Linked DNA regions of Homo sapiens: all the other regions are linked to region 5. The links are contacts of gene promoters, found by promoter capture Hi-C in human tissues and cell types (Jung and others, 2019). All regions are on one chromosome and are shown on one strand. Each heading gives the region's core, a stretch centred on a gene start or on the middle of the fragment in contact. The rest is flanking DNA. Distances are from core to core; before and after follow the strand shown. Region 1 overlaps PRUNE2 (prune homolog 2 with BCH domain). Region 2 overlaps GNA14 (G protein subunit alpha 14). Region 3 overlaps PRUNE2 (prune homolog 2 with BCH domain). Region 4 overlaps GNA14 (G protein subunit alpha 14). Region 5 holds the start of FOXB2 (forkhead box B2).

Region 1 (5,599 bases), core at 3,100-5,599, 320 kb before region 5:
ATTCAGATAGTGACTTTTAAAATTTTAATGACTTAATCCTTGTTTAACATATAGATCAGATTTTTTACTATAACCTGTGATAGTTAATGTTTATGTTTCGACTTGGCTAGGCTATGGTGCCCAGTTATTTGGTCAGACACCAGTTTAGATGTTGTTGTAAAAGTATTTTTTTAGATGTGATTAACATTGAAATAGGCAGACTTTGAGTAAAGCAAATTACCTTCCATAATGTGAGGGGGCCTTCATCCAATCAGATAAAGGTCTTAATAGCAAAGTCTGAAGTTTCCTGAAGAAGAAGGAATTCTCCTGAAGACTGCAGCCCAGAAACCTGCCTGCATTTCCAGCCTGCAGCCCTGCAGAACTCACATTCACGACTGCAATGCTGACTCTTCCTTGAGTTTCCAGGCTGCCAGCTTGCCCTATAGACTTCAGACTTGCCAGCCCCCATAATCGCATGAGCCAATTCCTTAAAATTCTCTCAGTAGCTAGCTAGATAGCAAGATGGAGATCTAAATACAGATATCTCCTATTTGTTCTGTTTTTCTGAAAAACCCTAACATGTAACCAAATTACCCCTTTCTTCACACATCATTCTTCCAATCATGCTTTCTTTAAAATAAACAGCTAAATGTTTCTTCCTTTTAAGAAAGGTCTGTGTGCTACAGATTACCCTGCAAATGTTCTTTGTGACTATGTAGGAAAGATCAGGCACATCCATCACTGTCTTGGGGAACTGGTATTTGATCCCCTGCTGGACAGGTCTATAGCTGGAGGATGACCAAGGTGTTGGCAAAGGATTCTGGAAAGATTGATCCTAGGGAACATGAATGCAGTGCTGCAAATCTCAAGGGAGAGAGGTTATCTTTCAGCCCTAGTAACAAGTTTTGTTAACAAGAGTCAGTAGGTGGCATATGAGGAGAAAAGGCATTTTTCTCATGCTTTCTCAGATTTTCAAAATGTGGCTTGCAGCTCTCAAAACAGTTTGGCAGCTAAGAGAGGCTGAGGCTGAAGGAGGGGAGGGAAGAAGCTGATTTGCAGCTGGTGAGTCATATTGCACATACTATGAACCTATTTCTATTTAAGAAGAGGCTTTCTTAATTTTCTTTTTTGCAGAATGGTCTTGATTTTGGATCTTCTGTTCTATGATCAGATTATGTGTCAGAAGATGTTTCCAGGTTTTTGTTTGGGAAACCACAGCTATCTCATTGTTTTGCTTCTGTGATTACCTTCCTGTCCCCATGGCTTCCTTCATAGTATTCATCCCAGTTCACTCAGCTAGCTTCTTACCCTCTTCTTTGCCTTTCCAAATTATGACCTTTCCTTTAGTGACTTTCATAAGCCCCTTGAGGAGTGCCTTCATAAGCCCCTTCTGTCATTAAAACATTTTTTAAAAATTTATTTTATAACTTTGTTGGTATAAAGACAAATCCACTTGAAAGTATAATAATTTTTTCTTCTGACTATAAAAGAAAATATTCTCATGGGCTCCTTAAAGTATCATGGGCCCTGGGCACTCTGTCTCCTGTGTCTGACAGAGAATAAGCCATTCCTGCTGCCTGCTCCATAAAGGCGCCCGAAACAGATATCTCTCCTCTTATTTCCTCACTTGTATAATTCTTGTCTCGCAGGGTTGCCCTATGTAAAGTGAAATAGCGCAGAGTGCTTAACACCTGGTCCAACAGCAAATAGCCTGTAGTTAGTACCCATTTTATACTTAAACTGACATTGGGCATTGACTAGCTTGACTTAAATATTACACTGCTATCTACCTTTTTACTTATGTCTAACTCTTTAGTTAAACTGTAAACTCCTAGACGGCTGACAGTATGTTTTAAACCAGTGGTTCTCAAGCTTTGGAGGGCATCAGGAGTTGCTGAAGCTCAGCTGGCTGGGCCTCACCCCCAGAGTTCCTGATTCCGGAGGTCTGAGTCGGAGCCGATAATTTGCATTTCTAACAAGTACTCAGGTGATACTGATGCTGCTGTTCTTAGGACCCCACTTAGAGAACCACAGTTTTAGACAACTCTTTATTCTCCCAAAATCTAGCACAGAGGGAGACTTACACATTCACAGTAAATTATTTATGCAAAAGATAATACACATGCCGGAGGGAAAATCTGCCCCATCCCCATTGTGAGAAAAGTTTCAGTACTACAAAAGCTGAGCAGAAAGGGATGAGCAAAGAAATCTTGTTGAAAGAAAAGGTGCTGGTGGCACAATTGAACACTGACTGTCATCTGTTGGATCTCGGGGCATGTGCAAAATGCACACAAGAAGCCAAACAATAGCTCAGCCAACTCATGGCTGCCTGAGTTCTGAGCTCAATCTATAACAATGCCAGCAGGGCTGCTGGGATCCATCTGCTACTCTCTTTCTGATAACGGATCTGGGGTCTCTCTGGAAGAAAATAGCTTGACAGGAAGAAAGAAGGATTAGGCCAGCTGACAATGTCTGGATTTATGAAGCTGCCCTGGAATATGGTAGAGCTTTTAACCCCTTCTGCACTTGGCTAATCCTCAACATACCCCAGCTATTCTTTCCATTGTCCTTGTTCCTTTCATCAAGAAATGTAATTTGTGAATGCCAAAGCTCCCCTGGACACATTCTGTTTCCACACAAATTAAGTTCCCAGAATTTAATACTGCAGGAAGCCTTGAGATCTTTCAGCCCAACTCACTAATTTTACGCATGAGAAAACCTAAGCCTGGGATTAATCCTAAAATGTATAATCAGTCATGGTAGAGGCAGGCTGGAATCCAGATTCCTTGACTCACTGTGGGTATGTGATGTGTATAGTCCTTTACACTCCCAAGCTGAGTAGCAAAAATATATCTTTTCTCGCTTTTTTTTTTTTTTGAGACGGAGTCTGGCTCTGTCACTCAGGCTGGAGTGCAGTCACACGATCTCGGCTCACTGCAACCTCCACCTCCCAGGTTCAAGCAATTCTCCTGTCTCAGCCTCCCAAGTAGCTGGGATTACAGGTGCTGCCACCACCCCAGCTAAGTTTTGAATTTTTAGTAGAGACGGGGTTTCACCATGTTAGCCAGGGTGGTTTCAAACTCCTGACCTCAAGTGATCCACTCACCTTGGGCTCCCAAGGTGTTGGGATTACAGGTATGAACCACCGCACCTGGCCGATATCTTTTCTCTATTACATTTTAAGGAGAAAACATGACTTTCCCCGTTACTTAAGTTACTTTTCACAATTTGTTCTTTTGTCCCTGGAAGCAGGTGGGCTTCATAAACACAAATGAAGAGAAATGAAGAATGCTAAACAGTTTCAGCAGAGACTGGAAGCTTGAGGGCAGTGATGACATCCTATTCCCTGATATATGCCCATTGGCTACCCAGAACCACGGCACAGAGCAAGCTCTCAAAAACCACATGGTGAATGAATGAATGAATGAATCACTGATTTAATGACAGTTTGCCAATTTCTCTGCCAATTAGGGAATGAATGTGTTACACTGAGATTTGGAGACTGCTGTGGAGCCTGTCTCTTATCTAACTATAAGTTAGGTGCTTACATAAAACCAGAAAATGCCTTGTATTTGAAAATATGAAAATGCCTCTGTATGCTAAGCGGTGTGTCAACTGAGAAAGTACAGGCTTTGGAGGTGGCAAGCTTCGAATCCCAGGTGTTCACTCTGGTTACTTAATTCTAGGCAAATTATAGAAAATTTCTGAGCCTTGAATCCCCCTACTCAACCCTACTCCTTCCATTCCCCCCACTGGCATGTTAGGATTAAATGAGATAATGTATGCAAACTGCCTTGCACATAGTAGGTGCTGATTAAATGTTAGTGTCACTTCCTTGTATTCCCAACTGCCTGTTGAAGAGTCATGTAGGTATTCAAGTAGGTGGGGTGGCAGTTGGGGGGTAGGTATAAGACTGAATGAAAATTGAAGGGGCTTTTTGGCTGAAAATGTACATAAATTATCATTATGGTTATAGTTATCTAGTAGCTGCTTTTACTGATGGTGTGCCTTGCATTCAATATAAGCAAAGCTGCTATCATCCAGGTATTCCTCATATTCCATAACCTCTAACCATTTCCCAGGTTTCTAAATAAATTGCTTTTCAGGAAAAAAAATAAATCTAGCTTTTTGCTTACCCATTTGGTCTTGATATCCTGGTTCCGAGCTCAAGGAACTCTGTCTCCTCCTCCATTTCCGTGTCAGGGATCATGTTTTTCTGAACAGGCTGTGGTGAAAGCATTTCCCATTCATTGTCATGGGTGACAGCCTGCAACGTAACTGCATCCGGGCCAGCCCTGCCTCGGCTCTTACTCTTCTGTGATTGGCTGACTGGACCAGAGGCTTCCTCTAGTGCCAAAGATTCTAGAGGCTTCATTTCTTCCAGAATCTGCAGCTGGGGACCCTCACCCAAGCCGAGTTCAGAGAACGGCTCCACAGTCTTGCCAGACCACCCAGGCCCTGAGTCCCTGGCATCCAGTGATGGATCACCAACCTCACTATGGCCCAAGAACATCCAACTCTGGTCTTGTGCAGGGCTTTCAAAAGATGATCTCGTATCGCTTTTAGAAGACATTTTCTCTGCAGAGAGACCTTTTCTTTCATTTAAGGAGGCTGGCTGACATGTGTCTGGGAAGCTTGCTAACTGAGTTCCCTGCAGCCCTGTTTCTTTGGAACCTACATACAATTCTAATTCAGCTATGCTTTCTCTTTCTTCACAGGTCTCTGGCTTTGAGTGTGAATTTTCTTCACGGTTTACAAGTATGTAATCCATGTGTAGTGCATGACGATCTTCATTCTTCTCTGTACATCTTTCTTCCTTGTATTCTGATTTTATCTGCTCAGGCTCTTTGGTAGGAATTGTTTTTTCTTCTTCCAATTCTGATATTTCCTTGCTGGCACCTAGAAGTGGAAGTTGAAAGTGAGAAGAGGAGAAAAAGGTTTAATTAACACATTGTGTGATTTGTGATCCTTGCAAATGATCATCTAAAAGAGGTAATTTAATATTTTTTATATATTTTATTTATTTATTCATTCATTCATTTGAGACAGAGTCCCGCTCTGTCACCCAGGATAGAGTGCAATGGTGTGATCTCGGCTCACTGCAACCTCCACCTCCTGGTTTCAAGCTATTCTTCTGCCTCAGCCTCCCGAGTAGCTGGGACTACAGGCACCTGCCCCCACGCCCAGCTAATTTTTGTATTTTTAGTAGACATGGGGTTTCACCATGCTGCCCAGGCTGGTCTCGAACACCTGACATCAGGTGATCCCCCCTCCTTGGCCTCCCAAAGTGCTGAGATTACAGGCGTGAGCCACCGCGCCCAGCTAGAAAATATTTTTATTTTGTAGAGTCATTCGATTTTCTCGTGCACTATCAGGAATAGGTATTACATATGCACTAGATTTTACTGCTGTTATAATACAGGACTTAGTGAGGCATGCCTTGAAAATGTAGTTAGTTTTCTCTCTACCCTCATTGGTAGGAAGAGTGTGTCTTACAAATATGCACTAGTTTAATCAACGCAGCAGTTTCTTGGAAGTGGAAGAATGGAATGTTTCTTACCATTTGGTGGTCCTATGTCTCCACCTGCTGGTAAATCAGAATTATCTGTTTCTACTTCCC
Region 2 (5,630 bases), core at 2,762-5,261, 410 kb after region 5:
AAAACTCCGCATGACTCATTTCCCCAGTAAGTAATGAGAATATTGAATGAAGGGCCAGGAGAGAATTTTCTACCAGCAGAATCAGTATTGGCAGAGGTAATTAATTCACCTCTGACATTGAGAGTCTAGCCTTTCCATGCCTTAAGAAAATATTGTTACCACCCTTTGAATGACTTATTTAACAGCCCTCCCACAACCAGGATATGGAAAGCCATCATTTTCTTATATGCTTTAAGTAGTCAGCCAACTATAAATTAACAAAAACTCAATGCAAGAAAGTGCTTAAAATAAGAAATGGAATTCTTCATGGTTTAATTTCCCAGATGACTGGATTCTGTTGAACCCTTTTTATGTTAATTGGCTAGTGAAACCCAGTCCATAGCCTTTAGCCCATCGTTGGTGGGGAGGGGAATTGTCTTGTATTTTCTTTGTGCTTCTAGATATCCTAAAGAGCTCCATTCCCCTCTCTCTGTTCTCACGCAAAACTGTCTCGGCTATTTCTGGACTTTACTGTTCTAGATAAATTTTAACATCAATTTGTGAACTTCCACAAAAGCTGTTGCTATTGCATTTATCTCTTGAGTGAGGATTCATATTTTTAAAGCTAGATGTTGCTATTGTAGAATTGCTGCATATCAGAATAATTTCAGTCTTTTTCAGCAATTGGAATTGTTCCCACAGAATGGGGACACATGGTTCCATAACATATGTAGCCAACCGAGGTGCATTTTATAGACTGATTTGAGACAGATATTTCATACCTTACGTCCCCAAATGGTGTATGTGTGTGTGCACACACATGTGTGCACACATGCACAAAACCATCTTGGCCTTTAGTGTGGAGCACTCTTAATTCCCAGAGGATTCTCCTTCTGCTTGACCCAGCCAGCTACTGAGGGAACTGCAGCATGACACGATGATGCGCAGACTTGCCTTGAAAGGAGGAATCTTAGGAAAGTTTCCGAGTTACTATTAAGGCCACAGCATTTTTCTGTTTAGGAGCAGAACCATCAGTCAACCATGAGCTCTAAGAAACACAACATAACCCAGTGCTAATAGCAGAATGGTATATTCTTAGCCTCCTCAGAAAGGCACAGCATACATAATTCAAACAGCAAATCTGTGGTGGCCATCAGAACTTTGGCAGGGTTACGTAACATTTGTCAAACAATGTGGACTTCTAGCCATTTCATACATTTTTAAGATCTGGTCATATACATTGGGGGTAAAAATGTACACACACACACACGTGCACACACACACATTTTTCACCAATAAAACATATATGCTATCTAGAGCCCATTTACTCTATGTCAGCTTTGGCTTCTTGGTGATCAAACTGTGGCAAAGCTAAATTAGATATACTTATATATCCATTAATTTGGCTTAGAAAGTTAACACACAAAAAGAACCAAGTGTTTAAAAAAAATCTTTGGTGGCATGTTAAAGGAGTCACCCTTCAGCATGAGGTGAGAAACACAATTAAAAATGTCTCTAAATTACAAGGTTTAATAAAAAGCTTCAAACCCATTAACATTCTTATTTTTAAAAAAGTCACCCAAATTAACTCTAGAGGTTTGAAGGCATGATCTATAAACTAACAGGCTCCTTGCTTACATAATTTTAATCGCTATTTTTAAACATATTTAAAACTAAATCAAAGTGGCTTTTAAAAATTCTAGAAAACACCAAATTCAAAAATTACACAAAATCTTATAGCCAAAAGTCAAGAAAATAATTATAAACACAATTTGGGATGTAAGGACTTTTAAAGTATGTTGGTAAACTCAAATATCTTCCAAGTTCCATCACCCATCTCTGTCCCCACGATCTACATGACATCCTTAGTTCCTGGCATGGGGCTGGCTCTGGTGATGTCAGAAGCACTTGCAAATAAAACAAGGAGTTTGCAAATCACATCTTCTGTTATAGGGGAGGAGTGGGCAGCAGCTTTTAGACAAGGTTGAATTCCCTTAGGTTTAGCTGTAGAATTGTGTCTTTGACAGCAGCAAACACAAAGCGAATATTGTCTGTATCTGTAGCACATGTGAAGTGAGAGTAGATGACTTTCTCTTTGTCAGGATTCTGATCTTGGTAAAGCTTCAGGATAAAGTCTCTGGCAGCTCTGACATCCTGTTTCGGTCCTAGTCACAAGTGCAATTACAGGAATAAAGACACAGACTTAACACCATGTCCTCCCAAGAACCTTTTTTTTGAGACAGAGTCTCGCTCTGTAGCCCAGGCTGGAGTGCAGTGGCACGGTCTCAGCTCACTGCAACCTCTGCTTCTGGGGTTCAAGCAATTCTCCTGCCTCAGCCTCCCAAGTAGCTGGGATTACAGATGCGTACCACCACACACAGCTAATTTTTGTATTTTTAGTAGAAACGGGGTTTTACCATGTTGGCCAGACTGGTCTCGAACTCCTGACCTTAGGTGATCCACCTGCCTTGGCCTCCCAAAGTGCTGGGATTACAGGCGTGAGCCACCGTGCCTGGCCCCAAGAACCATTTTTTAATGTATTCTTGTTCTTATTTGAGATCCTGCTTTGATCCATCTTTATTTCCAGGGAACGGTTTACCTGGAGCATTATTTTTATGGTATCTCATCATGAACCCATAAAATAGTCATATTTTAAAATGTCCTCTGGTATCTAAAAATTGTACTTTACAGTGATTTGTTTAAACATAGTGACCCAATTTGTCTGATTTGGACCACTATTGAAGAGAAGTAATCCTGGCTAACACATATGGACAGACAGCTCTGGTCTAGGAGAGATAAAAGGAAGAATGTGGGAACTAACATCAGGCTGATTTTAAAGCTCGAGGGTGCTACACTACACAGCCAGTATGGTTAGTAAAAGGGGAAAGAAGAGTGCTAAAACATGAATCCACTAAATATCAGTGTCAAACTTAAGGTTTGAGACCTCCTGTACCAGAAACAATTAGCAACAGGGCATGAGACTCTCCTACCTTGGACAGGTTATGTGAGTCCACCATGTGTCTGGGAAAAGGGATGCCACACTCTAACATACACATAAGAAGCACCAGGTGCTCTGACTGGCATGAGGAATGCACAGATAAATCAAGCAGAGTCTCTACCCTCATGGAGCCGACTGGGAAGAGAGCTGAGTGAGCAGAGGATATGACATAGCATGATGTGGCCAAGAGAGCAAGCAGGGGTTAGGCTGCTGAGGGAGCAGAAAGGAGGAGGCACCCTTCCTGCAGACCAGATGGGCAGGGGAAGCCAGAAAGGCTCCCAGAGAAGGGGAGGCCTTTGCTGGGTTTTGGAGAACAACATGGAGGCAGCGAAAGGAGTTGGTAAGGGTATTCCAAGCACTGAGGGAAGCACATGTGGAGGTGCTGTGGTGAAAACACAACAATGGTGCAACTAGAGCTTCTGTTTGAAGGTGGGAATAGGGGGAGAGGCTATTGCAGGCAGACCAGGGAGGCCCCTTTGAGCCGTGATAACTCTAGACTGATGCCCGGGAGGTGGACGAGATCAGCACAGAAAACACTGTCCACAAGATAGACACTTACCTGTGTATTCTGGGAAATAGCTAATTAGATGAGAGTACATGATTTTCTCTTCCAAAAGATCCTTCTTGTTCAAGAATAAAATCACAGACGAATTCAGAAACCAGGGGTAGGTGATGATGGTTTTAAATAAGGCTTTGCTCTCTTCCATGCGATTCTAAGTGAAAAACAAGGGACTTGGGATGAAGTAGAAAGGAAATATTTTGGAAACAACATGGCGCATTGCCAGTCCATCCATCTCTTCCCTTGCCCCGCCGCAGTCTCTGGGCCACTGTCTGCTGAAGCTGGTGAGCATGTGGGGCCCCAGGCTACAGGCCTCCTGCTTCTGTTTGCCCCTCCCCAAGCCTCTTACTAACCATCCCCTTCTGGGTCCCCTCTCCTGTAGCATCCCAGCTCTTCTCCAGCCCAAAACTCACATGGAACGAAGTAAGAAAGGCTTTGGTGCAGCTTGGAAAAGGAAGGTTCCTACCCACGTTTCACAAGTTTCCTGTGTCATGTGATCGTTGGGATTACTAAGTGGGGAAGTGCCAGCTTCAGACCTGACACGGCCACCTCAGTTGGTTATGGGCTTCCAGACTGGGCCTCAGCAGTCAAGTGACAAGGCTCTTCCAGCAAGGCCACTGGCCCTAGGAATGCTAGAAGTTGGCAGAGACAGGACGCACTGCTACTGGGAACCCACCCTGTGCCACACTTTACAAGCAGAGCAGTGGCCCGTTTGATGGGTGACCATACTGTTGTTCAGAACTTTTTTTTTTTTCCTTTCTGAGATGGAGTCTCGCTGTGTCGCCCAGGCTGGAGTACAGTGGCGCGATCTCGGCTCACTACAACCTCCAGCTCCTGCATTCAAGTGATTCTCCTGCCTCAGCCTCCCGAGTGGCTGGGACCACAGGTGCATACCACCACACCCGGCTAATTTTTTGTATTTTTAATAGAGACGGGGTTTCACCGTGTTAGCCAGGATGGTCTCAATCTCCTGACCTCGCGATCCGCCCGCCTCGGCCTCCCAAAGTGCTGGGATTACAGGCATGAGCCACCGCGCCTGGCCTTGTTTAGAACATTCAAATAACTTTCCCAAGCCCATGTAATAGTGGGACCTGGGGAAGGTTGTGTAGAAAGACAGTGATAATTTCTAAATGTTAGACATTGGCAAGAAGATATTAAATGCTCCTAATTTACTGAGAACAGACAGGGCACAAACAAATCTTATCTGTGACAATAATTGTTCTAGATAGCATTCTGCTCTTTCTCAAGTATTTCTAAGAGGAAAGAAACAAGAACTTCCCTGTAGGGAGGGAAGGGATCACAGTGAAAAACATCCAAGCTCAGCACACACACTCAAGAGGGACACGCCATAAATCACTCTTTCCCCACAACTTCCAGACACCCAGGTTTGTTCTGCCACTCAGTACGCATTGGGGGAATTACGATCTGGAATGTATTAAAGCTTTAAAATTATTATGATCTGAATGATAATGATCTCCAAGGAAATAAAATATATGAAAACTTCCCAGACAGTATACAGAGTGGATATAATACATATCTACAACCAGGAGGGGAAAGTCTGGAGTGGCAACCACTTAATTTTTCTCCAAATATTTTGTGATTTTTAGAAGAGAAAATGTTTAATTTCTAAGCACTTTGGGCTGAGATACTGGTCCCTTGTGCACCTTACTAATCGTTTGAGTTTCCTGAGGAACGTCACAAATAATTCCTGAAACAAATTTGCAGCTATTTTTTTTATATTGATAACTGAATGTCTTGCCTTTAAAAAAAAAAAAAAAATCTCCAACTGAGAGGGCTGGGCGACAGCCAGCATTTCCGTTCTTTGCACAATGACACAATTAAATGGGTTAATCCTCCACTAATTAGGTAATATAAGCTATGCTCCTCAGAGAAAAGTGTGCTCTCAAGAAATACAAGATACAATTTGTTCAGTTATTGCCTAATCCTGGACTGAGTCCTTTATTGATTTACTTTCACGCCTTGGAAACAAAAGACATTTTTTAAAAGGTCAAGAGGTCTTAATGCAAGTTCAGGGGAAAAGATGACGAGGAGGACATGAGTGTTCCACCGATACTGTCCCCAACCTGACAGAGA
Region 3 (5,381 bases), core at 702-3,201, 290 kb before region 5:
GGTGTTTATAGCATATCTGGCCTTGACCCACTAGATGCCAGTAGCAAGCTCCCTGCCCTAGTTATGACAACTAAATATGTCCCCTGTGGGGCAAAATCACCCCAGTTAAGAACCACTGCTTTAGAGAAAAACAGCAGGAGACTCTTAGGAGCTTACAAAATAATTCAAGTCACACTCAACTGTTTCAGAAATCTTACTACATAAAGCAAGACACATGGTTAATTCTGCCTGGTTTAACAGGCAGGAGAACTAGAAAAGTAAATCAGGGATGGGGAGCATCTACATGAATACTTTTTATTAATTGGCCAAATATTTCCTTTTTCGAAGCCAGTAAAAATAACATCTTTCCATCAATTGTCTTTTAGTTTAGATTGCTGTGCTTATAAATGAAACCAAGCTTCGATTCTCTTAAACAAAGAAAACAGCAGGATGGTTTAAAAGAGCCAAGATTTTATAAAACATCTACTTCCTATTCCAGGAAAATGAAGTTTACCCAGGTATTTTCCAGAGTTGTTTCTTTCTTCTTCTTCTTCTTTTTTTTTTTTTTTGTCAAGCAAAGTTGTACTATTATTCCAACTTAGTTATGGGTAAACAGGGCTTTTTTTTTTTTTTTTTTTTTTGAAACAGGGTCTCACTTTGTCACCCAGGCTGGAGTGCAGTGGGGTGATTTCGGTTCACTGTAACCTCTGCCCCCAGGTTCAAGTGATCCTTCCACCTCAGCCTCCCCGAGTAACTGGGACTACAGGTGCAAGCCACCATGCTTGGCTAATTTTTGTATTTTTTGGTAGAGATGGGGTTTCACCATGTTGTCCAGGCTGGTCTTGAACTCCTGACCTCAGGTGATCTGCCTGCCTCAGCCTACCAAGGTACTGGGATTACAGGTGTGAGCCCCCCGACGCCTGGCCTTAAACAGGGCATTTTTAAATGCCAAATCTTATATTTAGGATTCCTGAAAAATCTATCTTTTATCTCCATAATGGTAACCTAAAATATGGCAGATATTTGAGGGTATAGCTATGTTATGCCACACTCATGGGGCATTACAACTGTTCAATGAATGGCTAGCATTCTTGCCTGATAACAGGCTACCAGCATCTTTGCCCAATAACTTAGGCTATGTGGAAAAACTCATCAAAACCCATTAAAACCCATTTCTGGGCCTGAATTATCTAAACCTGTATGTTCACATCTCAATCCATTCTCAACCCCGGCTATACCTAAGAATAGCCCAGGGAGCTGTTAAAAAAAAAAATACAAGTACTCACAGCCCACCCCATGAGATTTAAATTTAATTGGCTTAAGGGTGAGGCCTGGGTATCAGTATATTTTTCAAGGAGGTACATTGATTAATGTGCAGGTAGGGTGGAGAACAGGAGTCTGTATTGACATAAAGAAATATTTTCAATTTGTATTGTCTACACATAGTTTCTACATCAGTGATTCTAGTTTCTATTCTCTAGTCATTGACTGAACTTTGATAGTCACTGGGGAAAAATATAAATTCCAAAAACTTGGTTCATATTTGCGTATGTGTGTTTTTAAATAAGCAGCCCTAACTTCTCCAAATGAGCAAATAATAAAATGTAGTGCTTAAAAGAATAGGCTTTGGAATACAGCAGCCCAGGACTCACATCCTAGCTCCACAGCCTGTTATCTCTGCACCTTTAGGCAAGTTACTTATTAGGCTAAGCTTCAGTTCTTTCCTCTGGAAAATGAGTATAATAACCTACTTATAAAATGAGAAAATGTATAAAACACTTAGCTTAGGATCTCTCACACAATCAGCCCTCAATACATAGATGGTAGTCAGCAGCAGCCAAGACCCAACAGCTACAACTCCATTAACAGTAAGTTTATTTGTCAATTAGGGCATTAGAATAATCCATTTTCAGGGACAGTTTGGAGATTGTCTTTCTACCTTATGTATGTTAGAAATAGTCCTTTTTGCCCTAAGATTCTTTTGTTGCAGCCATTGTTTAAATTACGGAGCTACAGAATTTCTGATTAAAAGAACTCTCAGGTTTGGAGAAAGTGTGGGACAAATGAACCAGAGAGTGTAATGGAGCAATGGGTTCTCCAGGTGCTGTCTTTAGGATGTGATCTAAGTCAATGATCCTCAAACTTTAGCTGAACTCATGAATCACCTACAGGGCTTCTAAAAATACGGACACCTGGGCCCCACTTCTAGCGTTTCTGATTCAGTAGGTCTGGGGCTGTTAGTTCTAGCGAGCTCTCAGGTGATGCTGATGTGGCTGGTCTGGGAACCACAATTTGAGAACCACATTTTTATCTAAAGCAAGACATTTCATTTTTCTGAGCCTCAGGTTCCTATCTGTCAAAAACAAACAACAACAACAGCAACAAAAAAAGCCAGAGTCCATTAAGGTATAAAATTCTTGCTTCTACTTTGCTTGGCTCTTTAGAAATGAAAGTATACAGTAGCATTCTTCTACTGTATATTTTTTATATTAGCTGATATGATTAGGACAAGGAGTTGGTTAATTAAAAATTTGGCTAAAGAGGTAAACTGTTAAAAAGAAATGTTTTATTATAAAATAAAATAAAACGATCTTATTTGAATTCAAACATAAAATAATGCATCCATTTATAATCTTTTCATGTAGAACCAAGGTCTTTTAAAGTATTTTTTTCTTTTAAAATATTTAAAAGCATGGGTTTATAGGAGCTTTCCAACTTCTTTGTTGCAGCCATACATATAAAATTTAATTTTCCATTTCTAATTTCAATTTCCTTAATGTGGAATAAAAACTTAGACATATGTAAAAAAATCTGAACACAGACTCCTACATTTTTACAAGTCTGCCAATTTTTTATAGCTGTATTATCCTAATTTGAGACCATATTTTTCTTGAGAGCATGTTTCATTTCATTTTCTTGTCTTTCCAAAGCATTAATCTTAGAAATAACTACCTTAGTCCTATTTCATCAGTTTATTCAAGATTGTGTAATTATATTAACATGTACAATTGATTTAAATAGGTTTGGAGCAAACACAGCTGATACTTGGCAAACATTAAATGCAGCTAATCCATATGTACACACCTGTTCAGTCTAGAGAGTTTTTGGCTGGCTGTCAGCATTCAGCTAAGGTTATCGATGAGTATACGTTACAGGGTAGAGTGGACAATGTCATTTAGTTCAGTACATTAGTTAAGGGAAGATCAATAAAGAGAGCTTCTACTGTCAGAGGTAACTGTGCAGCCCTACCTCCTCACCTGTAGAAAAAAGATACATATAATCTTGTGATTTTGAGTCACAACATATATTAACCCACGCATCTGTAACTTAAACACAAATCACCTGGGATTCTTGCTAAACCACAGATTCTGACTCAGGGGGCCTGAGATTCTGCATTTCTACATGCTCCCAGGTGATGGCTGTGCTGCTGGTCTGTGCACCACATGTTGAGTAGTAAGATATTAACCAATGCTACCAGAAGCCATAAAAAAAGGAGAGGTTCTACCCCTGAAATAAAAGATGAAAGAGGGCCGGGTACGGTGGCTCACGCCTGTAATCCTGGCATTTTGGGAGGCCAAGGCGGGCAGATCACGAGGTCAGGAGTTCAAGACCAGCCTGACCAATATGGTGAAACCCCATCTCTATTAAAAGTACAAAAATTAGCCGAGTGTGGTGGTGGCACACGCCTGTAATCCCAGCTATTCGGGAGGCTGAGGCAGGAGAATCGCTTGAACTTGGGAGGCAGATGTTGCAGTGAGCTGTGATCGCACCACTGCACTCCAGCCTGGCGACAGAGCTAGACTCCGTCTCAAAAAAATAAAGAGACGAAAGAGATGAGGCAATCTGAAAGGAAACACCAAACATTCTTAACATCTCTCTTTTGCAAAATGCGGAACCCAGAGAGTGTGGAATTTATCTAAGTAGAATGCAGGATCTCAATATGATAGAGGAAATGATTTCACACTGAGAATATGGCAACAGAAGAGTGGCTTGCTGGTCAACCTCTCTCAGAAGATAGCTTAATGAGCAATGGGGCTTTCATATTTCATATTTCTTTATGCTATGAAAAATGAAAAAGATATATATACTTGCTGCTGTGGAAATATTCCAAGACATATTATTATATGGGGGAAAATCAAGTTTAACACACACATACACACACACACACTATAAACATATATTCCCTCTCTCTATCTATCTATCTATCTATCTATCTATCTATATATATATATATTTTTTTTTTTTTTTTGAGACAGGGTATTGCTCTGTCACCCAGGCTGGAGTGCAGTGGTAAGATGTCAGCTCACTGCAGTCTTGACCTCCCAGGCTCCAGCGATCCTTCTGCCTCAGCCTCCTGAGTAGCTGGACTGCAGGCACACACCACTATACCCAGCTAATTTTGTTTTTTTATTTTTTTGTATAGACAGGGTCTCATTATGTTGCCCAGGCTGGTCTTGAACTCCTGGACTCAAGTGATCCCCCCATCTTGGCCTACCAAAGTGCTGGGATTGCAGACCACCATGCCCGGCAGGAACAATAAATATATTTTTTAAACTTACAAAACAAAATTGTATCTTTCTAGTACGTACCAAAAAGAGCAAGGAGAAAATTCCAGAAAAATGTACACCTCATTGGTACACTTATTATTTAGAAAAAGGACTGGTATTTGAATGAGGGTATAAAAAGGCCTTGAGCTTTGTCTGCATTATTTAGATTCCTTTACAGTGTGAACAAACTCATGTATTATTTATGTAATAAACTAAACAAAAGAAAGAGTAGCTTGCAATTACATTTTGTTAGTGATCAAAGCAAACCTCCTTTGCTTATAGTAAAGGAGTCAAACCTTTTTACTCAGACACCCCCGCTGCTCCCACCACTAGCAAGCATCAGGTCCTCTAAGGGACCCTGATACGTGCATTTATGTCATAGAAAATTACACTTGGCCGGGCGCGGTGGCTCACGCCTGTAATCCCAGCACTTTGGAAGGCCGAGGCGGGTGGATCACGAGGTCAGGAGATCAAGACCATCCTGGCTAACATGGTGAAACCCTGTCTCTACTAAAAATACAAAAAATTAGCCGGGCATGGTGGTGGGTGCCTGTAGTCCCAGCTACTGGGGGCTGAGGCAGGAGAATGGCTCCAGGAGGCAGAGCTTGCAGTGAGCCGAGATAGTGCCACTGCACTCCAGCCTGGGGGGCAGAGCGAGACTCCGTCTCAAAAAAGTAAAAATAAAAATAAAAGAAGAAAAAAGAAAATTACACTTAAGATACATTCTTTGGGGAAAGGCAATCTTCTCTTTGTCTATCATGGTCTAGAACCTCTGAGAAATCTGCCCTTACCACCCACGCACATTTGGCTTGGTTTTTGACATGTGTTTTGAATCATCCTTCTGTTGCCTTTCAT
Region 4 (5,559 bases), core at 735-3,234, 430 kb after region 5:
GTAGCAACAAAGAATATCTGCACTCCAGATCTTGGTGGAGAATTTAGTCTCTCTGCCGCCTAACTCTTACCAAATTTTGAAACAAATGGTATCTATGGATGATTTTCCTGAAGTACATTCAGTCCAGCGATGCCTTTATAAGCATTTTCCAGAGTGGTACATTAAACAAAACACTACTCTACAAAACGTGGTACATATCCTTAAAAAAAAGTTCCTTGATCAAATTAGTTTAGGACAAAGTCTGAAAAAGTTACCCAAGTTTTCTAGTTAACTGCAGAACTGCACACAAGTGTGTGTGTGTGTGTGTGTGTATGTGCATGTGTATGTGTGTGTGTGGTGTGTATGTGTATGTGTGTGTATGTATATGTGTGCGGTGTGTGTGTTTGTGTTTGTGTGTGTGTCTGTGTGGTACATGTACCCCTTAGGGCAGGGATCTGCTGTGGTCTGAAAGTTTGTGTCTCTCCAAAATCCATACGTTGAACTCTCATCCCCAACGTGGAGGTATTAAGGAGTGGGGCTTCTGAGTGGGGACTAGGTCATGAAGGTGGAGTCCTCATGAATGACTTTGTGCCCTTTTAAAAGAGGTCTGAGCTGGGCACATTGGTTCATGCCTGTAAGCCCAAGGACACAGGAGGCTGAGGCAGGAGGACTGCTTGACGCCAGGAGTTCAAGACCAGCCTGGACAACATAGCGACATTCCCTCATCCCTAAAAACAAATAAACAAACAAGTAACCAGCCGGGTGGTGTGTGTACCTGCAGTCCCAGCTACTTGAGAGGCTGAGGCAGGAGGATGGCGTCAGCCCAAGAGTTCGAGGTTACAGTGAGCCATGATTGCACCACTGCACTCTAGCCTGGGTGACAGAGCAAGACCCTGTTCCTGAAAAAATAAAAAATAAAAATAAAAAGAGGCCTGAGGGAGCTTGTGTGTCCCTTCCGCCATGCGAAGACACCAAGAAGATGCCATCTCTGAGGAGCAGACTCTCACCAGACAGCACATCTGCTAGTGCCTTCATCTTAGACTTCTGCAGACTTCCCAATCCCCAGAACTGTGAGCAGTAAACGCTACTCTTTATAAATTACCCAGCCTAAGGTATTCTGTTATAGCAGCCTGAATAGACTAAGACAGATATTAGTCTCTTTTCTTCATTAATGTACTCCCACGTGCCTAGAATGGTGGTTCGCACATCAATATTCTTTGAATGAATAAATGAATCTTACCTGAAAATCTTTACATTCAATAAATACTGACAAAATACAATGAAGTCAAGGAGCAATATGCATTAACAAAATGCAACAGTTCATGAAAATGTGTAACTATGCGCACCAAACTCTTAACCATTCAGTCACTTAGAAAGATAATCCACATGTGTATGGCTTAAAAACAACAGCAAGAACAGCCCTGAAGCTACAACAGGATTCCTTCAACAAATGCAGCATTTAGTGAGAATTTATGGAACTGAGCAAACCTGAGCAATCATAAGCCTGCAGCCACCACAACAAATACAGCAACATGGAGTGGGGAGGCCCGAACACAGCACAGAGCTTTTGATATGCTAGTTTTATTATGAGTTTCCAAAGAGCAGCTTTACGATACACTACTTGCCAAATACATATAGTTCAATGGCAACTGGGGATCCATTTTCTCACAGGATAAAACTGCTCAGACTCCAGCCGATTCCATAGCTTGTAAAAGTCAGAAGTCTTGCTGCAGTTTCTGCTAATGCTCAGAAGTGAAAGCTTCATGATTCAGTATCTCTTCTCATTTGCACAGGCACAAAGCTCAGGCTCCTCGCCCGCTCCGTGCAGCATCCGATCTCTTCAAAATCTTGGATTTCACAAGGAAGAACCGCATTGCCCAGCCTTCCACTACCTGCGTAGTTCCACCCCACACCCCCGGCTCCCCTCTTTCTACTTCTCCTGAAGCTTTGGATTTGGTGGTTCCAAAGTCTTCACCGTTTCTTACAAAAGTGACTTCCCCTTTCCTCTAACACTAAGACATAAAGGAGGAAGTCTCAGATTCTACCCCTAAACTTGTCAGTCTGATCTACTTCTGTGAACCCCCTTTGTTTTTGGGTGGCCCATTATCCATTCTCTCTCCTTCGGGTTACAACTGAGCTTGGGAGGATAACCTTTCGCTCGCTGTGTGCATCTTGGCACACCTGTTAATTCAGGTCTCCTGCTCTCCTGTGGCTAAGTGCCAGGCCACTCAGACTTTGCTGAGCTGTTGAACCTTGAGGGGAGTTATCTGATAATAGTGGGGACGGGGAAAAGGAACAGATGAAATTCTTTTATTTTGGTGGCAACTGGCCATCAGGATTTTTTTTTTTTTTTTTTTTGGAAGTGAGACCCCTGGAGTTTTCAGGTTCCTGTCCATTCTGAGACTGTTTCTTTAGCCTGCTCCTTGATTCCATGACCTCACTATAGCCTTTCCATAAACTCTCTTCTGCAAATGTGAGTCAGTTTATTTCTGTTGCTTACAACCCAGAAACCTGACTCTCTGCCCCACCAGTAGAGCAAAGGCCTTTCTAATGCGAACAGTCAGGGTCAACGAAAAAAGTTGTTTTGCTTTTAATGTGACACATATATTAGCATCTCCCATGAATGTTTAGTTTGGGAAATGCCCTAGATGTTCTGGATTTTATTTCTGAATCTATTCAAAGGCTGTGGATTCCAGCCATATGGTTTGCATTAGTTTTCTATTGCTGTGTAACAAATTGCCACAAACTCAGCAGCTTGAAACAATACCTTTTGATGATCTCAAAGTTTCTGTAGGTCGGAAGTCCAGGCAATGGTATAACTGGGTTCTCTGTGCAAGGTCTCACAAGGCTGAAATCAAGATGTTTGCTGGCTGTGCTCTCATCCAAGCTCATTCAGGCTGATGGCAGGATCCAGGTCCTCAGGACTGTAGGACTGAGGTCCCTGTTGTCTCATCAGCTGTCACCTGAAGGTCTCTCTCAGCTCCTAGAGGCTGCCCTCAGTTCCTGGCCATGTGGCTCTCTCACAGCATGGCAGTATCCTTCTTCAAGGCTAGCAGAGACTCTCCTTGAACTCTAGATCTTCTTTAATGGGCTGATTAGGTCAGAACACCCAGGATTATCTCCTTTTGATTACTTAAAGCCACTGATTAGGGACTTCATTACATCGGGACTTCACTTTGTATATCCCATAATCTAATCGTGGGAGTGACAGCCAACACTGTCCTGCCCACACCCAAAGGGGAAGAGATTATGCAGGACGTGTACACCAGGGGGCGTGAATCTCAGAATTCTGCCCAGCACATGGTCTTGTTCCCAGTTCTCTGGGGAGCAAAACTACCTCTTACTTTTCCCTCGGCTTATATTTTTAAAGTGTCTACGATACCTCATATAGGGTTATTGTTAGGGTTACTGTCTCTGTTCACATGATGCCCCACATAAGGAATATATATTCTTGGAGTTAAGAACCAAGACCCCTTATGCTTCGCTGAGAGACTGGTAGGTTTTGCCTTGTGGTCCATAGGAATCGCATGAGTGAACCTGATTCTCTTTTCACTTTAGCTAGTGGGAAGCTCAGAAACAAATATGTGGCTAAGTCTAAGTAACTGAGTAGAAGTTTATGAGTACTTGTATCTTACAATACCTGTGTTTCATTCCCCCACAGGCCCCTGCCCAGCCTCACTCTTTCATTTTAATTCAAAAACTTTTCTGGCACTGATTACTATTTTAAGGTAGACAGTCTTATAAGTAGCCTCTAATGTGTTGTATAAGGAAATAGGGTATACATAAAAATGAAATAAAATAATAATAATAGCTAATCTAAACTGAGCCATTATTGTGACCACCTAGTATAAGCATGATCATATATGATCTTTACAACCACTCCAGGAAATAAGATACTTTAATACCCTTATTTAATAGATAAGGAAACAGATGAGGCCTAGAGAAGATAAGAAGTAGTACCAGAACAACCATTCAATTCCAAGCGTGCCTGACCAACAGAGCCTAGGCTGTTAACCATCACACCCTATTGATTTAAATACATTTACATTTTAAAGGAAGGAAAGAGTGGGGACAGTTGGCTGCCTGTGCAACTCTCCAGACTAGAAAGAGACCATTACACATGTTGTAAAGCCCAGAGGAATAGTTTTCTGCACATCTTGCCTGGCAAGTGCTCTTCTACAATGTAAAACAAACTTCTCTGAAGTACAGAACTTGGTAATAGCTAAACCCCGCTTGAAAGTAGAAAACGAAGTTCCAGAAATAGAAGAAGGGCTTGGAAACAAGTAAGTAAGCATTTTCCTTGGTAAGTTATAAACAGGTGTAAGAGAATATCTGACACCAAGACCCAAAAGCACGATGTGACTGTTTCCATATGGAAGACTTGCTAATATTCACCGTGGAACTGAGGAGTAACGTATGTTCTTTCTAAAACAGAGTATGAAAAACTAGAGTTGATAAGACACATTCTGAAGGTACATCGCTGATGCCAGCCCACATTCTTTAACCCTACTCCAAAGGATATTATTTATACAATAAATATAATATAGTTATTGGAAAATATTATAGTAAAAATAAATACAATATTTAAAAAATAAATCAGCTAATAATTATTGTCAGAGGTTTACATCCATATCAATATCAATGTGATGTTTATGAAAAAAAATAAACACAGCTGACGAGTTTACGTACTTACCTAGGACCATAAATAGCCTTGACTAGGGACAGCCAGGACTTAGGTTTCATGCCTGTGACTCACTAGGATTCACTGTGACTCACGACGCCACGTAGTGGCAGCTTCCACAATTGCAAGCCCATTAACAGAAGCAAGACCCAGGGTGCTTACTTTATACCTAACACTTACAAAGTTTCAGCCAGAACGACGTAGCTAGGTTTTATCTTGAAGTCTGTTTCAGAGCTAATATGAAGGTAAGAACCCAGGCATTCTGACCCTTTGAGAAAGTGGGAGCGAGAGAGAAAGAGAGAGACAAGGAGAGAGAAAAAGAAAGAGACTGAGTTAGAGTTTAGTGGAAGGCGCATCTTTGCTGCAACTTTTCAAGTTAGTAGAATATTATCACCAACACAAAATGCCCCTTGGGGGTCTATGTTCTATAAATTCGAATTTTATTAGTAGTTCTTTGAAGTACATAAAAATTGACAAGAGAACTTAAGTTGCTTCCTGCAATTATAAAGTGAATGAGTGGTAAAGGGACTAAGCCCAATTGTGTATGCCCGTAAGCTTTCCATAGTACTCCATCAGTGTCTTATAGACAGCTCTGTGTGATGGACCGGCAATGCCCTACCGGAGTGTGAGAAAGCAGCCAAGAGGGCAGCTGATTTCCCTTGCACACAAGGACACATGTGAGGTTGTCCTACTCTTTGCACTGAATTTAACTACATGTTTCCAGCGACCACATTTCCCATTGACATGCCTTTTACTTCATAAGCACCTTCATCCGGGCTATAGACACCCTCACGCCGCCCAGCCTGCTACTCTTAATAAATTTTCAAAATCCTGCTCCAATGATAATTCAAGTCTAGTTTTGTAGTAGTTCTCCCTCAACACCAAAGCTTACAGATTTT
Region 5 (5,698 bases), core at 2,327-4,826:
CCACTGAGCGCCTGCAAAACTTGTCGGAATTAACCTCCGGGGAAGTAGGGGAAGAGGAGAGCGCGCCCCCCTCCCCACCGCGGCCCCAGCTCTGCACCCCGGCCCAGTGCCGCGCTTGGAATCCCCCAGGATCCTCCGCGGCGGCCGCAGCCCGCCACTCTCCAAAACAGACACGCGACCCGAGCTCCCTGTCTGCGCTCTAGGCAGCAATTGCGGCCTGGGCCGCCGCGTCCGGCTGTGGCCTAGGTGGTGGGAAGTACTTTCTACCCTCGCCAAGCACAACCTGAATGCGGAAGCGTGAGGCTCGGGGCGCTTCGCTCAGCCTCCGAGACTGTTTTGTCCCAGGTTGCGTGGAACCTGGCTCGCCGAGGCCGAAGACACTGGCCAAGCCCCTGGCGTCCCCTGGCGCTGAACCTGAGGTTGTGGCGGCGGGTCTGCGGGCTGTAGCGAGCTCACCCAGTGAGGGCCTGGCTCATTTTTTGTGCTCAGGGTTCGCGTTATGCGCCCAAGATTTGTCCCGGGAGTCCCTGAAGGGCCCCTCCCCTCGATCGGTTCCCAGGAGCCGCAAGTGCCCAACGGGCACGGTCCCAGAGCTGCTCCCCAAAAGGAGACTCTGCTGTTCCAGCAACCCGCGGAAGGGATGCTATCCGAGGTATCAACAAAAGATCCCTTTGCTCGAGCTGCGTGTGGGGTCGAAGTCCGGAGAGCCCTTAAGTGTGCGGCACGCAGAGCTCCTCAGCAGCGGCCTGACAGCGGTGCAGGAGACCCCAGCTTCCTGGGCTGGGACAGGGCTGTTGTCTCACGGTCTTGTTCCAAGGAAAAGGAGCCACCTGGCTCCAGCAGGCTCTTGTCAAACTGTGAGCGTCCTTGGAATTCTGTGGCTTCCCGAGGCCAAGAGGCTGTCCGCTGCTCGGCTCTCTCAAGTGTCTCAGCGGACAAAAATCGCGCAGAAACTCCTATGGCAGGAGGAAAGCTTCCGACATACAGTGAAAGAGAAAACATCTTACTTTGAAAAGGGCTTAGGACCAAGAAGCTGCTCTTTTCCCCGGGCCTTCTTGCAAGCTTCAGTCGTAACATCTATTCTCAGACGTCTTCTGGCCTAGGACAAACTGGCCACATAGAGCTAGCCAGAAATCTAGCTCCTGACTAAAGATGGAAATTACGGGCCTGACCCGCTCACGGCACTCCTGCGACCTGGCTAAGCCACCCCACGGACAGACGTGCTCCCACCGTCCAGCTCACCAAAAGCCAGAAGCTGAAAACACCCGATCTGGTGTCACCAAGGTTGCTAGTTAGGGGGCAGCCCCCCAAGCAGCTGGGCCGATGGCTTTCTTCCAGGTTAGGCGTGGGAAAACCGAGGGAGCCATAGTGTCCAAATGCTCCTTTCTCCTCAAATCGCCTAACGGGAAAGGACCCGTGAATTTCCAACTTCAGCCACCCTATTTTACAAATAATGAAACAGTCCCAGAGACGGAGAGTATACTTGTTTCTAAACTCTGCTTTTCCTCCCAGCTGAAGGGCAAAGGTAGCCAAAACGAGTATACAACTTCAGGTTCTCCCTGCAGTAAACTGGGGTTTCCTGCTGGGTGTTTGGATGAGTGCAGAGCAGGAACCTCCAAGCAGAAGGACCTCACTCCTGGGTTCATCCACCTCTCCCTCGCAGATCACACCAGGATCCTGTGGACTGATAATTTTTGCTTCCTATTTAATTATTTCCATTCCACCTCCTGCCTCGCCCTGGCCCCACACCACCGTGCTAAGAATAGCAAAGATTTCCTTCCAGCACACACAGGTGATGGGACCCCTGAATCCCCAACTCTTACTTCTGGCCCCAGCTCAGACATCGCCATCCCAGAGAAACCTCATCTTGTCCAACTCACTCGCTCCAGGAAAGTGTGGTGGAGCCTCCATTCGCCAAGCCCTTTAGTGCCTATTCTATTAATTTCTTGGTTACTGTTCGTCTCACCCTCTATACCGCGATGGTGGAGCTCGGATACTGTCTCCTGTCTCCCTGCACCTGGTGCCTCACATGCAGTTGGCGCGCAATAAAACTGAGATGAATTTGGCATTTGGTGAAAACACCCCATGCTTTCTTCCCCATGAGTTTTTCCCTCCAGCCCTCTAATCATCGGGGTTTCTTGCAGAGAAGAGGCCTTGAGGACACGATACTCTGAACTTGACCCAGAGTGTCTAGCCCAGGAAAAAGGGTTTGTAAGGAGAGAGAAGCTCACAGCGAGTAGATGAAAACAGGGAAGGGTAAAAGGAAGGGGGCGGAAGAGGGAGATGCCAGAGAGAAGAGAAGCAAGAAGGCAGTGTCCTGTTCCCCCTCCACCGTGCTTGGTGGCCCGGGTGGGGCGCAGCTGCGGGAAATGCACCCGGAGCTGTGCCCCCTCCCGGCGAACAGCCTGCGCCACCCGCCGCACCGGGAGGTGGCTGGGGGCTGCCGAGCGAGTGGTGAACGCGATGGGTGGAGAGCGCCCGAAACGAGGTGGAAAAGGGGGCGGGGGCGAGGCACGGCGCCTTCTTGCCCCTTCTTCAGCTACAGACGCGGCGGCGGCGGCTGAGTCCCTCAGCCTCGGTCATGTGATAGTCTCGAAGCGCTAGCTGCGGGGGTCTCGGCGTCTCGGGGACCATTACAAAACGCAGCCAGGAGAGCGCGTCGCTGCCACTGCCGTCGCCTCTCCTCCTCAAGACAAGCCCGGGAGAAAGGCGGCAGCTGCGGCGCGGACGGCTGAGCCTCCCCGGCCAGCACTCACCCAGCATTCGCAGACGCCCTCTCCAGCCCGCCGCTCGCTCCCAGAGTCCTGCGCCCCACACTCCTCAGCAGAACCTGCGGGCGCTGCCGCTTCAGAAACCACCAAAGTTTTTTCTCCTCAGCGACAGCCTAGGGCTGCGCGTCTCTTCTAACCCCGGCGACGCTGCGAGCCTCGGAGAAAAGAGAGGCGCCCTAGAAGCCAATCTTCTCTCTCCTTACCCTGATTTTTCACTCCAGGAAAAGGAGAACTCCAGCGCGGTCTGGCTAAGTGCCTGGCCAGGGGCCTGCGTCCAGGGCACTGGAAGTCCTGCTGTCACTGGCCTCCAGGACAGCAGGCGCAAACTCAGATTTAAAGGGCCAGAGTCTCTACTGCCCAGACCTTCCTCCCAGCCATCTTGGTCTGGGTTTCCCTCGGACCTAGAAAAAGCAAAGAGGCCGGGAGGAAACACGGCCCCTTGCCACTCTCCTCTGCAGCCAGCTCCAGCACTCAGTCTTTGGCCACCCGGGGGAAGACGCAGAGAAGGCGGCGGTAAACCTGGTGCACTCCGCCCGCGACTGTGCGCGCCAGTCGGCAACCGTCGGGGCCAGAAGTTGCCAGCTTCCGAGAGCTGAGTAGGCCCGAAAGGCCAAGGTCGGAGACACCAGGCAATTCGGAGAAGGCAGGAGAGAGAAGCAGAGAGGGCCTGGAGGGCGAGAGGGCAAAGTGGCGGGACTGGAGGGGCCGAGTGGGAATTAGTGGGGGCAGCCAGGCCCCAGGAACGGAGTGCGGAGAGATTCTGTGGTCCAGTGCGGGCCGGAGGGCGGTGGAGGAGCCGGGGGCGATGCCGCGGCCGGGGAAGAGCTCGTACAGCGACCAAAAACCGCCCTACTCTTACATCTCGCTGACCGCCATGGCAATCCAGCACTCGGCCGAGAAGATGCTGCCGCTGAGCGACATCTACAAGTTCATCATGGAGCGCTTCCCCTACTACCGCGAGCACACACAGCGCTGGCAGAACAGCCTGCGCCACAACCTCTCCTTCAACGACTGCTTCATCAAGATTCCGCGGAGGCCCGACCAGCCTGGCAAGGGTAGCTTCTGGGCGCTGCACCCCGACTGCGGGGACATGTTCGAGAACGGCAGCTTCCTGCGGCGTCGCAAGCGCTTCAAGGTGCTGCGCGCCGACCATACTCACTTGCACGCGGGAAGCACCAAGAGCGCGCCGGGCGCCGGTCCGGGAGGGCACCTTCACCCCCATCACCACCACCACCCCCACCACCACCATCATCACCACGCTGCCGCACACCACCACCATCACCACCACCCACCCCAGCCGCCGCCGCCGCCGCCCCCGCCGCCGCCGCACATGGTACACTATTTCCATCAGCAACCGCCTACTGCTCCGCAGCCGCCTCCGCACCTCCCGTCACAGCCCCCGCAGCAACCGCCCCAGCAGTCGCAGCCTCAGCAGCCGTCTCACCCCGGCAAGATGCAGGAGGCGGCGGCCGTGGCGGCGGCGGCGGCGGCGGCCGCGGCAGCCGCGGTGGGCAGCGTGGGACGCCTGTCTCAGTTCCCACCCTACGGGCTGGGCTCGGCCGCCGCCGCTGCCGCCGCGGCCGCGGCGTCCACGTCAGGCTTCAAGCACCCCTTTGCCATTGAGAACATTATTGGCCGGGACTACAAGGGCGTGCTGCAGGCTGGAGGGCTGCCCTTGGCGTCCGTCATGCACCACCTGGGCTACCCCGTGCCCGGCCAGCTTGGCAACGTCGTCAGCTCCGTGTGGCCGCACGTTGGCGTCATGGATTCGGTGGCCGCCGCCGCGGCCGCCGCAGCCGCAGCCGGAGTCCCTGTAGGCCCGGAGTATGGGGCCTTCGGGGTCCCGGTCAAGTCCCTGTGCCACTCGGCAAGCCAGAGCCTGCCTGCCATGCCGGTGCCCATCAAGCCCACGCCTGCGCTGCCGCCCGTGTCCGCGCTGCAGCCGGGGCTCACTGTCCCCGCGGCTTCGCAGCAGCCTCCGGCGCCATCCACCGTGTGCTCCGCGGCCGCGGCCTCGCCCGTTGCCTCTCTGCTGGAGCCCACAGCCCCTACCTCGGCCGAAAGCAAGGGCGGCTCCTTGCACTCGGTGCTAGTGCACTCCTAGGGGACCCGGCGGGCGTGGGGAGACCAGCGGGGTGAGAGACGCCGGGCCCGGAACCGCCCAAACCACCCGACGGGGAGAGGGCGCCCTGGTCAGGCCGGGCAGAGCTGGCGAGTCTCAGCCTTTGCTGGAACGGAAGGTATTTAAATAGACGAACAACCCCGAAAAGTGGATTCTCCAGTGGTCTGAATAAATATAACCTTCCTGGTGTCTGTGTTTATACTATGTTGTACAATCAGATTAATGAAAGCCAATTTTCAGGTAAGAGTTTCTATTGTAATTAATATAAATCCATAAGTTATGGGGGGAGGGAACGAAGGAGGTTAGGAAAGCCTCATTCGCTGGTAAATTGGAAGTCGATTCTGACCCTTATTCCTGGGAGCAGAAGCTGGCAGAGCTAAACCTCCCGCGAAGAATCCAACAGAGAGTGACGCTGAAACGGATCTCAGCCACCACGTTTCTCTCTGCTGGTCGCATCCTCGGCGGTCGCCTCTCGTGAACATTCAAGACAAAACTGCCGTCCACTAAGGAAATTTCGTTTTATTTAAGAAGGAAAAGAGGAAGCGTTTGATACCGTTATTTTCCTAGTCAGCTAAATGGGCAAGGAAACGGTGTCATGAATAAAGTCGCTTTGGAGGGGGAAGGGGAGGAGAGGAGGCAGCGGGAACCCCACGAAATATCTTTGGGAAACAGCTAAGGTTCTTGGCTCTGACCTGGGGGTCAAGAAGGATAGGAGGAACCTCTAGAGCAATTAGTTTGTACAAAAGAGAATGGCAGCAGCTTAAAGGGTAAAGCCCCAAATTCCAAAAGTTGGGAAACACAACCA

Evidence for each region. Contacts are between HindIII fragments. The study calls those that stand out against the background at their distance.
Region 1: a contact is called between a fragment that was not itself captured here and the fragment with the promoter of FOXB2 in region 5, in 2 of the 25 tissues and cell types used here (dorsolateral prefrontal cortex and spleen).
Region 2: a contact is called between a fragment that was not itself captured here and the fragment with the promoter of FOXB2 in region 5, in 1 of the 25 tissues and cell types used here (IMR-90 fibroblasts).
Region 3: a contact is called between a fragment that was not itself captured here and the fragment with the promoter of FOXB2 in region 5, in 8 of the 25 tissues and cell types used here (aorta, dorsolateral prefrontal cortex, liver and 5 more).
Region 4: a contact is called between a fragment that was not itself captured here and the fragment with the promoter of FOXB2 in region 5, in 1 of the 25 tissues and cell types used here (H1 embryonic stem cells).

The regions. Positions count from the first base shown.
Region 1 is chr9:76,699,222-76,704,820 of GRCh38, forward strand. It overlaps PRUNE2 (prune homolog 2 with BCH domain), which reads right to left. Exons shown (of 19, transcript NM_015225.3): 8 at 5,540-5,599; 9 at 4,116-4,878. Among named protein-coding and RNA genes, the nearest start is that of PCA3, 62 kb to the right of the region's middle. The HindIII fragment of the contact is 3,550 bases long and covers 2,575-5,599 here.
Region 2 is chr9:77,422,026-77,427,655 of GRCh38, forward strand. GNA14 (G protein subunit alpha 14) reads right to left here. Exons shown (of 7, transcript NM_004297.4): 6 at 3,537-3,690; 7 at 1,054-2,144. The coding sequence ends at 1,954. Among named protein-coding and RNA genes, the nearest start is that of GNA14-AS1, 23 kb to the right of the region's middle. The HindIII fragment of the contact is 6,809 bases long and covers 608-5,630 here.
Region 3 is chr9:76,727,113-76,732,493 of GRCh38, forward strand. The region is part of intron 6 of PRUNE2 (prune homolog 2 with BCH domain); the gene reads right to left. Among named protein-coding and RNA genes, the nearest start is that of PCA3, 35 kb to the right of the region's middle. The HindIII fragment of the contact is 6,012 bases long and covers 1-4,957 here.
Region 4 is chr9:77,452,261-77,457,819 of GRCh38, forward strand. The region is part of intron 2 of GNA14 (G protein subunit alpha 14); the gene reads right to left. GNA14-AS1 (GNA14 antisense RNA 1) reads left to right here. Exons shown (of 5, transcript NR_121184.1): 2 at 4,035-4,262. It overlaps LOC124902185 (a long non-coding RNA gene), which reads left to right and starts at 4,823. Exons shown (of 2, transcript XR_007061598.1): 1 at 4,823-4,905. RefSeq lists an enhancer at 3,134-3,253. The HindIII fragment of the contact is 3,169 bases long and covers 401-3,569 here.
Region 5 is chr9:77,016,079-77,021,776 of GRCh38, forward strand. FOXB2 (forkhead box B2) reads left to right here and starts at 3,577. Exons shown (of 1, transcript NM_001013735.1): 1 at 3,577-4,875. The coding sequence starts at 3,577. The coding sequence ends at 4,875. The HindIII fragment of the contact is 6,747 bases long and covers 343-5,698 here.